Linked DNA regions of Homo sapiens: region 2 is linked to region 1. The links are contacts of gene promoters, found by promoter capture Hi-C in blood cells and fetal thymus (Javierre and others, 2016). All regions are on one chromosome and are shown on one strand. The core of a region is centred on a gene start or on the middle of the fragment in contact, and the rest is flanking DNA. Distances in the headings are between cores, read along the strand shown. Region 1 holds the start of INSM1 (INSM transcriptional repressor 1). Region 2 has its middle 7.8 kb from the start of BETALINC1.

Evidence for each region. Contacts are between HindIII fragments. The CHiCAGO score rates a contact against its expected background, and 5 or more counts as called.
Region 2: a contact is called between a fragment that was not itself captured here and the fragment with the promoter of INSM1 in region 1, in 1 of 17 cell types (fetal thymus). The highest score is 5.7, in fetal thymus.

The regions. Positions count from the first base shown.
Region 1 is chr20:20,364,083-20,370,618 of GRCh38, forward strand. It overlaps INSM1 (INSM transcriptional repressor 1), which reads left to right and starts at 4,022. Exons shown (of 1, transcript NM_002196.3): 1 at 4,022-6,536. The coding sequence starts at 4,186. The coding sequence ends at 5,718. RefSeq lists an enhancer at 3,115-3,885. The HindIII fragment of the contact is 3,677 bases long and covers 2,364-6,040 here.
Region 2 is chr20:21,519,057-21,525,592 of GRCh38, forward strand. It overlaps a transcript of NKX2-2 not described here. Among named protein-coding and RNA genes, the nearest start is that of BETALINC1, 7.8 kb to the right of the region's middle. RefSeq lists an enhancer at 1,833-2,647. The HindIII fragment of the contact is 5,340 bases long and covers 22-5,361 here.

The DNA of each region.
Region 1 (6,536 bases), core at 2,772-5,271:
TACCCGCTCTCCTCCCTCCCTGGCCCGACGGTCCCACTGAGGCAAAAACAAACAGCCCTGAGGGCACTTCAAGGAGCGTGCAGTGGCCCCGACGGTACTCTCGGGGGGATAAAAGAGGTGGCCAGCCACGCCGTCGGCCCCCGGCCGAATAATGGGCGCGCAGCAGATTGCCAGGGGGCACTTGAAACTCGAGGGGAGGGAAATACTTGAGCGCGGTCCCTCCCCGCGAGGACGCACGACGCAGCCTCGCGGATCGTCCCTTGTTCGCTCTCTTTCATGCACTCTCCTTTTGTGTGGAATTATCTAAACGGGAGATCCCTGGCAGCTTTATGCTAATGCGCCGAACAAAGGCAACGGCCCGCGGGCGGGAGGCCCGGAAGGTGCCTGGGGCCGGGCCGGGCGGGGTGGCGGCCAGGCGGGCTGCGCGTGTCTCTCGCGTGCCCCTGGGACTGACACAACAACCCCTCATTCCTGCAAATACAAAGCCTCTCACCGGCTCGGGTCGGGCGCACCCGGCGCAGGGAGGCGCTGGTCCCTCCGGGCGGCGGGCACTGCAGCGGTAACGCACGGTTCCTGCCGGTTGTGGCTCGGGGGACTGAGGGCCGGGAGTGGGGGCTTCTGTGAAGCCAGAAGAGAAGTCTGCAGCAGAGTGGTGATGAGGGGCGCTGACACCTCACCCCCAACGCCGACGTCTCCAAACGCGATACCCTCTGCGGGGTGAGAATGCGGGCCCGCCCGGCTCCTCCCGTGAGGCCAGGGCCTCCTGTTCTCCTAGACACCCCAAGGAGCCAACTCCTCCGCAGAAGTTCCCCGCTTCTGCTCTTATTTCCAAGCTTCGCGCTTTCTACAAACTCCCTGTTGCCTTGACTTTGATTTCCAGCCGTGGTGAGGGTCAGAGTGAACCCCGGCGCGCTCCCCGACGGCATCCCCGCACACCAGGATAGGAGAAATTGGAGGGCCTGGGGCCTCGGGCTCCGCAGTCGTCGGAGGAAGAACCCACCGCGGGGTCCGCAAGGGAAAGTGAAGAGGCCCGGGATTTTTCCAAAGCGCTGGCCAGGACCCCGAAGGAAGGGGAGGAGTCACCTGAAGCCGGGGAAGGCCCCTTGGGTGCTCTGCCTTGGATCCTTATGTTCACTGACTTTCGCGAAGCCCCCCTGGAGGGGGGCAAATCCGCGCTGTTTCCCCCAACTTAACTTCACGCGGCCCATTCTCCGAATCGCGTGCGCCAAGGCCGGCGTCGGGGGCGCACTGTGATGGCGCTTTGCTCTTCCCAGGCGAAGACAAATATCTCGACCCGATGTCCCCATGCATGCGGGTGCACAGGTTCTGAGAAAATCACGCAGAAGGCGGCTGCGATCCACGGCCCGGGCTGGGCTACACCTGCTTGGAGGTCGCTGGTGTGTGCGTGCGCGCGTGCGCAGCCTAACTCCTTCCAGCCCCGGGTGGTGAAATTAGTTTCCAATACTAGTACCTTTCAAGTTTCCATTTATTTTGACTGTACCCGTCTGAAAGCAGATTTCATTTACGCTAGCAAGACTGGAAGCCACAAATAAAGAAAAAGAAACGGATTCATTGAATCTCAGTATCTCAGTAGCGTTTAATAGATTCCCTTGGCTAAATTCAGAGCCCTGTTTGAATTCACTCACGCAGGAGTTGTTTTGTTTTTTTTGTTGGTAGAGGTGCCGGTTTCCCATCCCCACGGCTTATTTACAATTATGGGTGTTGTTATTTTTAAAGGATTCACAAGGTGACTAACTCTCTGTTATCTGTTGAATGGAAGGAGTGTTACATATGCAAGACCGAATGGGGCAGGCCGAGCCCCCGCCCTATGCTATTCTACAATCCAGATGGGATTCGTGATTAGAAAATAAAATTGGCCAAAGCTGTCTCGGAATCCTTTTCCCACTTCTAATTTCATCAGCACTATTAATCAGAGCTCAAAAGAGCAAGGAAATAACATCAGTTACTTTTAGATAGAAATATGTTTATAAATTTTAGATAAACTCATTTTAAGATTTCTAACTTTTGGGGAGACTAGCACTCACCACAGCATTTTTAAAACTAGGGTGAGACTTTTCAAAATATATTTCACTATATGCATTCTTCCCTTTTCAGTGTGTGAGTTAAAATATTACAAACATAAAATTATCAAATATCTTTCCCTTGATTAACCAACCTGATTAACCCCTTAATTAATTAAGCCTAACAACTGTCCCCATCACAACTTATGACTCATGTGGACTCTATTTTTACATGTTTAATTTCTACGCCAGGGTATTTTCAGAGGGAAAATCCAAAACAATTAAATACCTTCAGTGGAATTAAGCGTAAGTAAAACTCAGCAAAATCTGTCTGGTATACAAAGCTTTGCAGAAAAATGTTTCCTTCTCTTTCAATAAAGTGACATTTTCCTCACAGCATATGACATTTTATGTGGCTTGGCTATTTGTTCCCCAGTGTTGGACGATCAGGGCCACTACGCACTCGTGGGGTTCTCTGCCCTGTCCCCCGAAGATTCTGCCTTTTGTGTTTCCTCGGGGCTGGGCTGGACAGAGGATGGAGGCAGGCGGCCCAGTCTGGGTCCAAACGGAACGGCAGCGGAGGTGGGGGTGGGGGTGGGGGCGGGGGGAATCTTCGCTGTTGTCTCTTCCTGGTGGCACAGGGGAGGCGGCTTGTCCTCTCGGAGGCCTCAGCCTGCCTCAGAGTACAGATTGCCCCCCCTCCCCCCGTCCAGCACGCGTCTCTTTTGCGTCCAGATTGGCCGCGACCGGAGCTCAATAGCAGGAGGTTAATTTCCTTCACAAAGGTGAAGGGGGCACGGCTCCGTGGGGGCTGCGCCCAGACAGGCAGCCCCTTTATTTCGCAGCGCCTTGATTGGAGCCCTTGATTTAGCATCTGATGTCAACCGGCAAACAAAATGCCCGCTCGGAATGAAAATGCATGAGGCCGCGCGGGGAGGAGAAAGCCAACTTCACTGGGGCGCACGAGGCCGACCGCGCGTTTCGGGCTTCGGCCAACTCGACCCGGATTAACCGAGCCTTGGACCACGCGGAAGCTCCGGGCGGCCTGGGTCGGGCCCCGCCAAAGATGCCATTCCCAAGCCTCCAAGAACCCAAAAGTTCAGAAATTCACGTTCCTCTGGGAACCCAGCCCAGCCCGCCCGCGCTCCAATCCCGCGCTTTCGGGAGACTGAGAAGGCCGTGCCAATTCCTTCTCAAACTCGAAAGAAACCTTCTCTAGCCCCGTGGGCGCGCGGAGGCTGCGAGCACAAACATCGCCCTCGGCCACTGCCAGAAGGCCGGGCCCCCTGTCCACACTTGGAACCCCGGGGAACCCTTTTGCTTGGCCTCTTGGGTCCAGCGGCCCATCCGTCCAAGGTCCGGGCGGAGGCCGTCCGGACCCTGCTGCTCTCTCGGATTCTTGTTTATTTCCCAAACACCACGCGGAGCCACTGCGCCTCCGCAACGATCTCCCCCGCACCGCCCCGGCGCGCCCCCGCCCCCACCCAATCAGCGCGCACAACTTCCCCCTCGGCTCCGGCTCGCGGATTGAACCCTCCTGACATATTTGGGGCCATTCTTCTCCTTTGTTGCTATTTTGCTAGCGACCCGCGGGTAATCCCCGCGCGGGAGGGGGGCGTGCATTGTCGCGCTGATGGACGGGCCCATTTGGCGGCTCCGCGCCCCCCGGAGGAGAGACACAAAGCCCAGGCACGTGCGCCTCCCCATAGAGAAGCAGCAGACCGTGAAGGGAGGCGGGGCCGGGCGTGTGCCTGGACCGGGCGGGGCGGCGGCGCCGGGCGGGGCGACCAGGGGCGCGCGCGGGGGCCCCGCGCCCTCAGGTACATCTGCCGCACCTACCGGGCGACCCCCGAGTCCCGGCCCCCTTTTGGCCGCCCCATCGCCCTCCCACCCTGCCAGGCTGAGGAGCTGCGGACGCGCTGATTGGCTCCAGGGGAAGCGGGAGGCGAGAACAATGGCCCCCTCCCCCCGTTAAAAGGGAGCGGCTGCCGGGCCCGGGGACAGGGACGCGCGTGCAGGGCGCAGAGCTGGGCCGAGCCGTCGCCGGCGCCACGCGAGTCCCGCAGCCGCCGCGCCCGGGCAATGGGCCGGGGGCACTGAGGGCCGCCGGGGCCGAGCGCGGAGGGGGGACCGAGCCAGTGCCGTGCCCTCGGGCCGCGCCAACATGCCCCGCGGCTTCCTGGTGAAGCGCAGCAAGAAGTCCACGCCCGTTTCCTACCGGGTCCGCGGCGGCGAGGACGGCGACCGCGCACTGCTGCTCTCGCCCAGCTGCGGGGGCGCCCGCGCCGAGCCCCCGGCGCCGAGCCCGGTCCCCGGGCCGCTGCCGCCGCCGCCGCCCGCGGAGCGCGCCCATGCAGCGCTCGCCGCCGCGCTTGCCTGCGCGCCTGGGCCGCAGCCACCCCCGCAGGGCCCGCGGGCCGCGCACTTCGGCAACCCCGAGGCTGCGCACCCCGCGCCGCTCTACAGTCCCACGCGGCCCGTGAGCCGCGAGCACGAGAAGCACAAGTACTTCGAACGCAGCTTCAACCTGGGCTCGCCGGTCTCGGCCGAGTCCTTCCCCACGCCCGCCGCGCTGCTCGGAGGGGGCGGCGGCGGCGGCGCGAGCGGAGCTGGCGGAGGCGGCACCTGCGGCGGCGACCCGCTGCTCTTCGCGCCCGCCGAGCTCAAGATGGGCACGGCGTTCTCGGCTGGCGCCGAGGCGGCCCGCGGCCCGGGCCCCGGCCCCCCACTGCCCCCTGCCGCCGCCCTGCGGCCCCCGGGAAAGCGGCCCCCGCCCCCTACCGCCGCGGAGCCGCCCGCCAAGGCAGTCAAGGCCCCGGGCGCCAAGAAGCCCAAGGCCATCCGCAAGCTGCACTTCGAGGACGAGGTGACCACGTCGCCCGTGCTGGGGCTCAAGATCAAGGAGGGCCCGGTGGAGGCGCCGCGGGGCCGCGCGGGGGGCGCGGCGCGGCCGCTGGGCGAGTTCATCTGCCAGCTGTGCAAGGAGGAGTACGCCGACCCGTTCGCGCTGGCGCAGCACAAATGCTCGCGCATCGTGCGTGTGGAGTACCGCTGTCCCGAGTGCGCCAAGGTCTTCAGCTGCCCGGCCAACCTGGCCTCGCACCGCCGCTGGCACAAACCGCGGCCCGCGCCCGCCGCCGCCCGCGCGCCGGAGCCAGAAGCAGCAGCCAGGGCTGAGGCGCGGGAGGCACCCGGCGGCGGCAGCGACCGGGACACGCCGAGCCCCGGCGGCGTGTCCGAGTCGGGCTCCGAGGACGGGCTCTACGAGTGCCATCACTGCGCCAAGAAGTTCCGCCGCCAGGCCTACCTACGCAAGCACCTGCTGGCGCACCACCAGGCGCTGCAGGCCAAGGGCGCGCCGCTAGCGCCCCCGGCCGAGGACCTACTGGCCTTGTACCCCGGGCCCGACGAGAAGGCGCCCCAGGAGGCGGCCGGCGACGGCGAGGGGGCCGGCGTGCTGGGCCTGAGTGCGTCCGCCGAGTGCCACCTGTGCCCAGTGTGCGGAGAGTCGTTCGCCAGCAAGGGCGCTCAGGAGCGCCACCTGCGCCTGCTGCACGCCGCCCAGGTGTTCCCCTGCAAGTACTGCCCGGCCACCTTCTACAGCTCGCCCGGCCTTACGCGGCACATCAACAAGTGCCACCCATCCGAAAACAGACAGGTGATCCTCCTGCAGGTGCCCGTGCGCCCGGCCTGCTAGAGCGCGCCCTCCACCCCGGCCCCCGAACTGTGCCTTCGCTTGGAGACCCACAAAGAGAGTGCGCCCTGCACTCCCCGAACCCGAGTCCGCGCTGGGGGAGCCTCGCCCCCGCCCCCACCGGGTGAAAGTGTCGTCTCCGCTTCTCTCGGTGTGGCGTGACGGTAACCCCATACTCTCCTTTTGACTCCTTTTGGAACCCCCACTTTTACGTTGTGTCCCTCCGCCTCCCCCATGGCGCAACAGGAGTCAGTCTCTTTCTGTACAAGGGAGAAAAGCTGTACGCGTTTGTCTCGTGGTTGGAAGCCTCCCCTTGGCGGGGAGAAGCTTTTTTTCTTGCTAGTATTCGCTGTGTTCATGGTCTAGAAATGCGGTCTGGTCTCGCCTCGCCTACCAATCTCTGCTCTCTATGTATGTAGCGTACGGGTTGTTTTGGGTGAATCTTGAGGAATAAATGCCTTTATATTTCACAGGCTGTAAATTGAACTTCCCACACGATTAGCTTTATTATGGCTTGTGAACTGCTGGAGTCTGGCTTTACCTTTTTGTATGTGAACAAATCAAATTGCTTAAAAAAGAGTTTTCTTTAGTATAGCCACAAATGCCTTGAACTGTTGTCTGGGATTGTTTTGTGGGGGGAGGGAAGGGAGTGTTCCGAAGATGCTGTAGTAACTGCCTCAGTGTTTCACGTAAGACTTTTTGGTTTGATCATCTTTGTTGAGGTAGGACTATCAGTTCCCTCTAAATGTATATGTTGATTTATGAGTAATTGTTATTTATTCTTTATTTATTTATATTAATTATGAAGATTATGATATTAT
Region 2 (6,536 bases), core at 1,442-3,941, 1.2 Mb after region 1:
GGGCGACCTTGAGGAGCCCAAAGCTTCAGCAGCCCTAGGCGGCACACCTCACACTCCCCACCCACAAAAGCGCTTCCAATCATTAAACACACAAGGTCTTTTCCCTTTATTTGGAAACACTAATTTGTTTGACTTCATTTCATTTCTTCGTCTTTTTTTTGGAATGAAAAAGGGTTGAAAAGAAACTCCTTTCCTGGTACAGTATGTGGCTGAGCTCTCAGGCCCTCGCACATCCCATCTCAGATAACAACCTTCAAGTGGATTAGTTTATTGTCTGGTTAGCGCCAAGGTGCAAGCGTTTGTCTTCATTCACTCCGGAAACAAAGCGCGTTGCACCTTCCTGCTCCAGCAAGGATTAACGGCGCGGACACAAAGGTTTTGTCGGAGGGGGAAGGTTTATTTTATCTTGGGTTGGAGACTCAGAGCGTGGCATGCACTTGAAATCAATGGGGAAGGAAAATGTCACCCAATCTGGTCCCTGAGTGTGGCGATAAAGACGTTCACCTTAAGGATGGCATCTCCAAAACAGCCCCACTTTGGCTTCGACTTCCAATGCGGGAGCAGGGGCTGCAGGAAGCAGAGGTGTCAGCTCTCACGTCCTGGATGAAAGAAATAGGGGAATGCACCCCAGGAGTACTACCCCGTGCTGGGACCTTTGCTAACCAGAAAATGAAAATCCATCCCAGCTCCAATTGCCCTCACCTTCTGCCCCCGGAGAAGGAAACAGGGTCATAGGAAATCCCTTCTGTCTGTGGGGTGGCAGAGTGGAGTCTCTGGGTTGGGGAGGCCTAAAGCTGTGTGAGTCTGCAACTTTGGAGAGGCCAGACCGTGCCCGGCAGATCTCTGGCAGGAGAGACTCACAGCCATTGGACAGGTGGACGAGAAAGTGGGCATTAGTGTGAAAAGAAAGGAAATCTCAGCCTGCTTTGGGTTCAAGCCTAAGGTGAGTTTTTTTTTTTCCTTTGGTCCATATTATATTAACTCTTTAAATTGCCCCAGGAAGGGAAGAATGAGTGGATGCCTCCCAGATGGACAATCCTCCCAAGTCAACTAAGAAGGAGTTGGGTAGATAAGTTCTCCAGGCCCAGAGACTTTCAGATTCTGTGTCTGGGGGAAAATCCCCACCCCGTTCCTACAGAGTGGCGGGAACCCCATTGATGCCACGGAGAGAACTGATCCTGGGACCTAGAGCCTGGAGTCCCCCTGCGATTAACTGTGGATGCAGGAGGAAGGCATCTAGGTGAGCTCCCTTCTCCCTATTCTTTTTCAAGGCAAAATATACAACACTTTCCCAATTATCTGCCTCCCTCCCACCACAAAAGGGGCACATATCTCCCAAGGATGTAAATAGTAATAGAAATTAGTATTTGTCTTTCTATTAATCAGCTTCATTGTGTGGGCATAAGACCCTGCGGGCATATGTTAGGACTTTGATAAATGCACTTTAATGAGATCTTTAAAAATGCATCCAATAAAATAAAAGGCGAGGAAAGCCGTTTAACTTTCATGGATGTTAAATTGAACACGAACTGTGGCTCCGGGCACGCTACAAAATGGAACCGGCCTCTCTCCAATATTTTCTTTAAAAACCTAGCTTTAAGCCCCCCTCGGGCCAAACGAGCCTGTCCCAGCCAATCCATTATCACCGGTTTATTGGGGAACCAAACGCCACGTCCCCCTGGGCGAACTCCTTGGCTTTATTCGTTCGCGCTGCTCTAATGACTAAATATGTTACAATGAGATTACGCATCGTCAGTGTTGCCTTCAGGAACGTTCTTTCAGCCAAGCCCGACCTTCCCCGGATGAGGGCGATTTCAATACGGGAGATCTGGGTTTCTCCAGGAAACACGCGCTGAAAGCACTCTCTTATCTGAATTTACTTCTTAACACGTGACAAAATCATTACCACAAGACTTTGGAAAACAAGCGGCTCTCCTAACGGGTTGCATTCAGCACTTAAAGCTGGGTCGGGCAGGCTGATGTGAAAAGTAGTTGTCGGTGGCGCGGAGAAGGCACGCTCTTAGCTGGAGCTAAGGGCTGGTTCCGGGAAGGACAGGGAATGCACCCTTGGGCCCTCGGGCACAGAGAGGGGGTTCCTAGGGCTCTGTCTCTCTCTCTCCAATGTGAGCCCCAGAGGTTCACAACCTTCCCCTAGACGCAACGTCCCCTTTCCACCCCCAAGAGCCACTAAAGTCGAGAAGGCGCCAGAGGAGCTCCAAAGGGCCTCCTGGTAGTGTGTGCGTGTGTGTTGTGGGAGGAGGTTGGGGCGGAGGGGGCGCCCCTCGGAGACAAGGACCCCACCGAGGTTCATTTCTGATCCTCTGGCGATCTCTACTGACACAAACGAGAACTGTCCGGCGCCGGGCGCGGCCCAGGCGACACTCGCCTCCCAAACTCCAGTCTTCAGTCGCCTCTCCAGAGACCTCAGTCCACTGCGCGGGCCCTCAGCCCCGGCTCCTCCTGTCTGCGACTCCCACCACTTGCCCTCGTGCTCATCACCACCGTCCCCTCACGTCCCAGTTCCGTCTGAGGAGAAGCCCCTGTCTCCACTGGGCGCCATCTCCAAATTACCTTCGGGACTTCTGCCTCTGTTTCAATCCCCGATCCCGAGCTCCCTGCGACGCACAGGGGGCGACTTACCCGGTGGAGGTGGGTGCAGCGGCCGCCCCTTCCTCACCGCGGCCCCGCCAGCCGAGGCGCAACCGGCCCCGGGCAATCGGGAGGGAGCTAGCCAGGCGCTCCGCGCGCCCGCTCCGCCTTCTACTCCCGGAGCTGCGGCGACAGCCCCGCCGCATTTCAAGGCGCGTCTTTATCTAGTACTCCACCTACCCGGACCCCCCTCGCTCTGCGCCCTTCCCCCACCGCGCGCCCTACCAGGCGGGGCTCAGGGGACCGCAGGCGGGGACCGCCGCGGGTGCCGCGCCCCTCCCTCCTCCTCCGCCTCCCAGCCCCGCACCTTCCCAGCCCCTGGGACAGTCCCGCTTTCCCTGACCGCACCGGAAAGTGCGCAGCGGCGGGATCACCTGGCCTCGGCGGCTGGTAAAACTTTTCCTGACTGCAGGCGCGACAGAGGGGCCCTGCCCGTCCTCGAGTGCTCGCCACTCCTGCCGTGATCCGCAAAGTCGGGGAGAACTTCGGAGGCCCGCACTTGCCCACCTGCTGCGTCCGGACTACGCGGCTTGGGGATCGAGCCGAGTCAGGACCCGGGAGAGCGAGGGGCTCATAACCGGGGTCCGCCGTGAACCCGAGCTCCGGCGCCGCTCGGCGGCGACGACGGTGCCCCGAGACCCCTCTCTGCTGGCAGGCCGCGGTGACCGTGCCCGGAGCGCGTTCCCGCGCCGGGCGGCTGTGGCAGGAGGACCAGACAGTCAGCGCCTGGCAGCGAGGGCGACGCCGGGCTTCCTCCATCGCCACCGCCGGGCTCCGCTGCGGCTCCCGGGCTCCGCCGGGTGCCCCGCGCCATCCCCATCCCGCGTTCACCGGAAACGCGTGCGAGCTGGAGGCTCACCTGGAGCGCGACTGCGCCGCTGGAGCCTCGGCTGGGCGAGCGCGCAGGTCCCGGCCGCTCTTTATCCCGAGTCGCGGGCGGCTGCGGAGTCGCGGGCGGTCGGGCGGCGGCTCGACGCGGCCGGCGAGCGCTCCCCCTCCCGGCTCCGGGCTCCTGGCTCCAGGCTCCCGGCCCAGCGGCCCCACCCTCCTAGCTCCGGCCCCGCGGCCACCGCGCAGCCCCAGCGGAGGGGGCAGCTCCCCCGCGCCGCGCGCGCTCTGTTTGTTTTCCTTGCCGGACTGACGTGAGTCAAAATATTGGCCATATGTTCAGCGGTAATAAATTGGGTATGAGCGCAAACACACTTGGGCTTCGATGGCTCTTTCAGCTGCCACATGGTAGGCTTTGCGGGGAGGGGGCTTCCACCCCGCCTCGGCCCCCTGCCCCCAAACGCGCGGGTAGATTCCCTCCCTCCTGCGCCCCTCTGAGCAGGAGATCTGGGACCCCAGGTTTCTCCTGACCCTCGCCCCTCCTCCGTCCCCAGCAGTGCCTTGGACTCCGCAGCTCCTGGCGAGCCCGGACTGCTGGTTAACAAGGTCGCCATCTATAAATTGCTCGGTCGCTAAGACGCCATAAAACCAAAGGGCCAGATGTGGCACGTTATTTATGTGTGAAACCGCGTTTACACTAGATACGCGGATCCAAGGCCGATAGCACGACTTCGCGGGAGGTCACAGACCTCTCGCCCCGGCTCCAGGCTCCTCCCCCAGCACGATCTCCTCTCCAGGTTGAGGGGTGTCGGTCTTGCCGGGAAAGGGATTCACCCCTGCAGCCCAGGAGGAAAGTGATTTCAGTGCGCTTGTGCCAAAATGCCACCTGTCCAGGATTAAAGGCAGTCTCTGGGGTTTATTTCCGTAGCTTTCCTCTTTCCCCTGCTCTTGGCTTCCTTTTATTACGGGCCCCTGGGAGGCTGTTTTATTTTCCAGGCAGTTGATACGTTTCATGGGACCTAGATCTGACACAGCAAGGGTAGTGTGCTAGAGATGCCCAACTCTGTGGGTGGGCGGGATTTGAGGGTGGGGTCTCCTGAGCCCTGAGGGAAGGATTTTGGGAAGCGGAGCAGTTCACCTGGCTGAGGGAGCACCTGAAATTATTCTTGCCTCGGGCGGTGGTCGACTCCAGTGTCGCATGTCACCTGCCTTATTTAACTTGAGGGGCAGCCGGAGCACTGGGAGAGGCAGCCCTGGCCTCGGAATATGGAATCCGGTGGCCCTGGGTGCTGCAGGAAAGGGAAGTAAATACTCTGTTCTAATAGAAAACAATCGTTTTGCTTTCCTTCTTCAGAAGGCGGCCTTAGGACTGCATGTCCCCAAACTGGTCACCTCGCACTTTACTCACATGAATTCATTAACAGTCATTGTCTCTCCATTGCCATTATTTTACTATTTCTTGAAGTGAACCAAATTCTCTCTGTGGTTAATAAGCACTGAGCCAGGCCCCCTACCTTCCTTTTCATCTTCAAAACACCTGGGGTTCCCTGAATGGCATCTTCCGTCTGGCCAAGGAAAATAAGAGATGAAAAATGTTGCCCTACTGCAGGGAAAAACATAAGCATTTCACTTTACTATTACCAGTTACCCCAGGTCTGTGTTCACTAGATAACTGTCCTTAGGTGGCTGTTAAGGGTGGAAAAATGATGCTGTTGAAAGAGGGTGGGAGAGAAGGGGAGAACCAACATGAGCTGGGGGTGGGGAGGAGAGACCCATTTGATAGGGGCAAAAAGAGCTATAAAATGAACCTCTGAACCTGAAGTGCTGAGCAGGAACAGTGACTCTCTGGGTTTGCTCTCTTGGGCTTTAGATGAGCTCCTAGAAAGCTTTAGTTAACTGCAGAAAAACCTGGGACTAGCTTCAGGGCTACAGGAGTGGTTGATCTTGGGAAATTACACTGTTTTTCACTCTTTTTTCTTGGATTTTTACATCTTTATTTATGGTTAAAAACCAAACTATAGGGTCTATTTTTGGGTTTACATTACCTCCAAGTGGAAGCGCTGAGATTACAGATCAATTGCTTCTTTGGGTGAAAATATTGCTTCATGACCAAAATTAGACAAGGGGATTTGAAGGCAGGCCTTCACATTTGTAGTCTTCGTGGGAATGGGTGTCTTTGTCTCACAAGTGCCCTGTGAAGAAGCTCATGCTTTCTTCCTGCATGTACCACAGATATGTGCTAGGCAGAGGATTGAGACGCAGACAAGGAGCTTAGAAAGTCAGTGTCTGGTGCTCCCAGGGTGGAAAACTGAGAGACACGAAGCAAAGAGTATATCAAGGCAGGCTTTACATCATTCCCTAGTTAGGAAAACCCATTTTAAACCAGCAAATGTAGCAGGGCATCTACTAGTTAACTGATAATAAAAATCCATGACAAAGAAGATGCAGTGGGGAGCAAGCATAAATGAAATACGACTGCTTAGATACAACTCCTGTTTCTTCTCTTTGGCCTTATTCAGCAATCCGGTGCTAAACTTCATACACTACATCCTCCAACCTCAACAGATTGCATGCTGTTCTTAGTTCCACCATCTTTTATGCTATTCTTACTTCAGAAACATTCCTGTCCTACTCATGGACTCAAAATTCACTGACTTTTCACACTGGAAAAACCTTCCTCCACGAAGCTCCCCGCAGACGCACCATCAGCTACAGTTGTTCCCCTCTAGGAGTGATCAGTTCTCACTTGCAAGTCAACACATAGTCAGCGGAAATAAATACTCTAGTGTGTTTTGACTTGAACTAGGATATAATGGAATTGTCTTGAAAAGAGTTATTCAAAGGTCCTCTCATGGAGAAGTTCTTTGCTTGTTATAGCTGTTGGCCCTGCTATGCAGTTGATTCAACTAAGGAAGCTAAGTGCCTTGCTCACACCTTACCTTAGCCTCACGTGTGGCCTCCAGAGAGGCACCATGGAGGTGAGAGCTGAGACGGAGTCTGAAGGAAGTAAGTACCCCAACCCCAGACCACAAAGGGCTCTCAGGAAGCAATGTACTTCT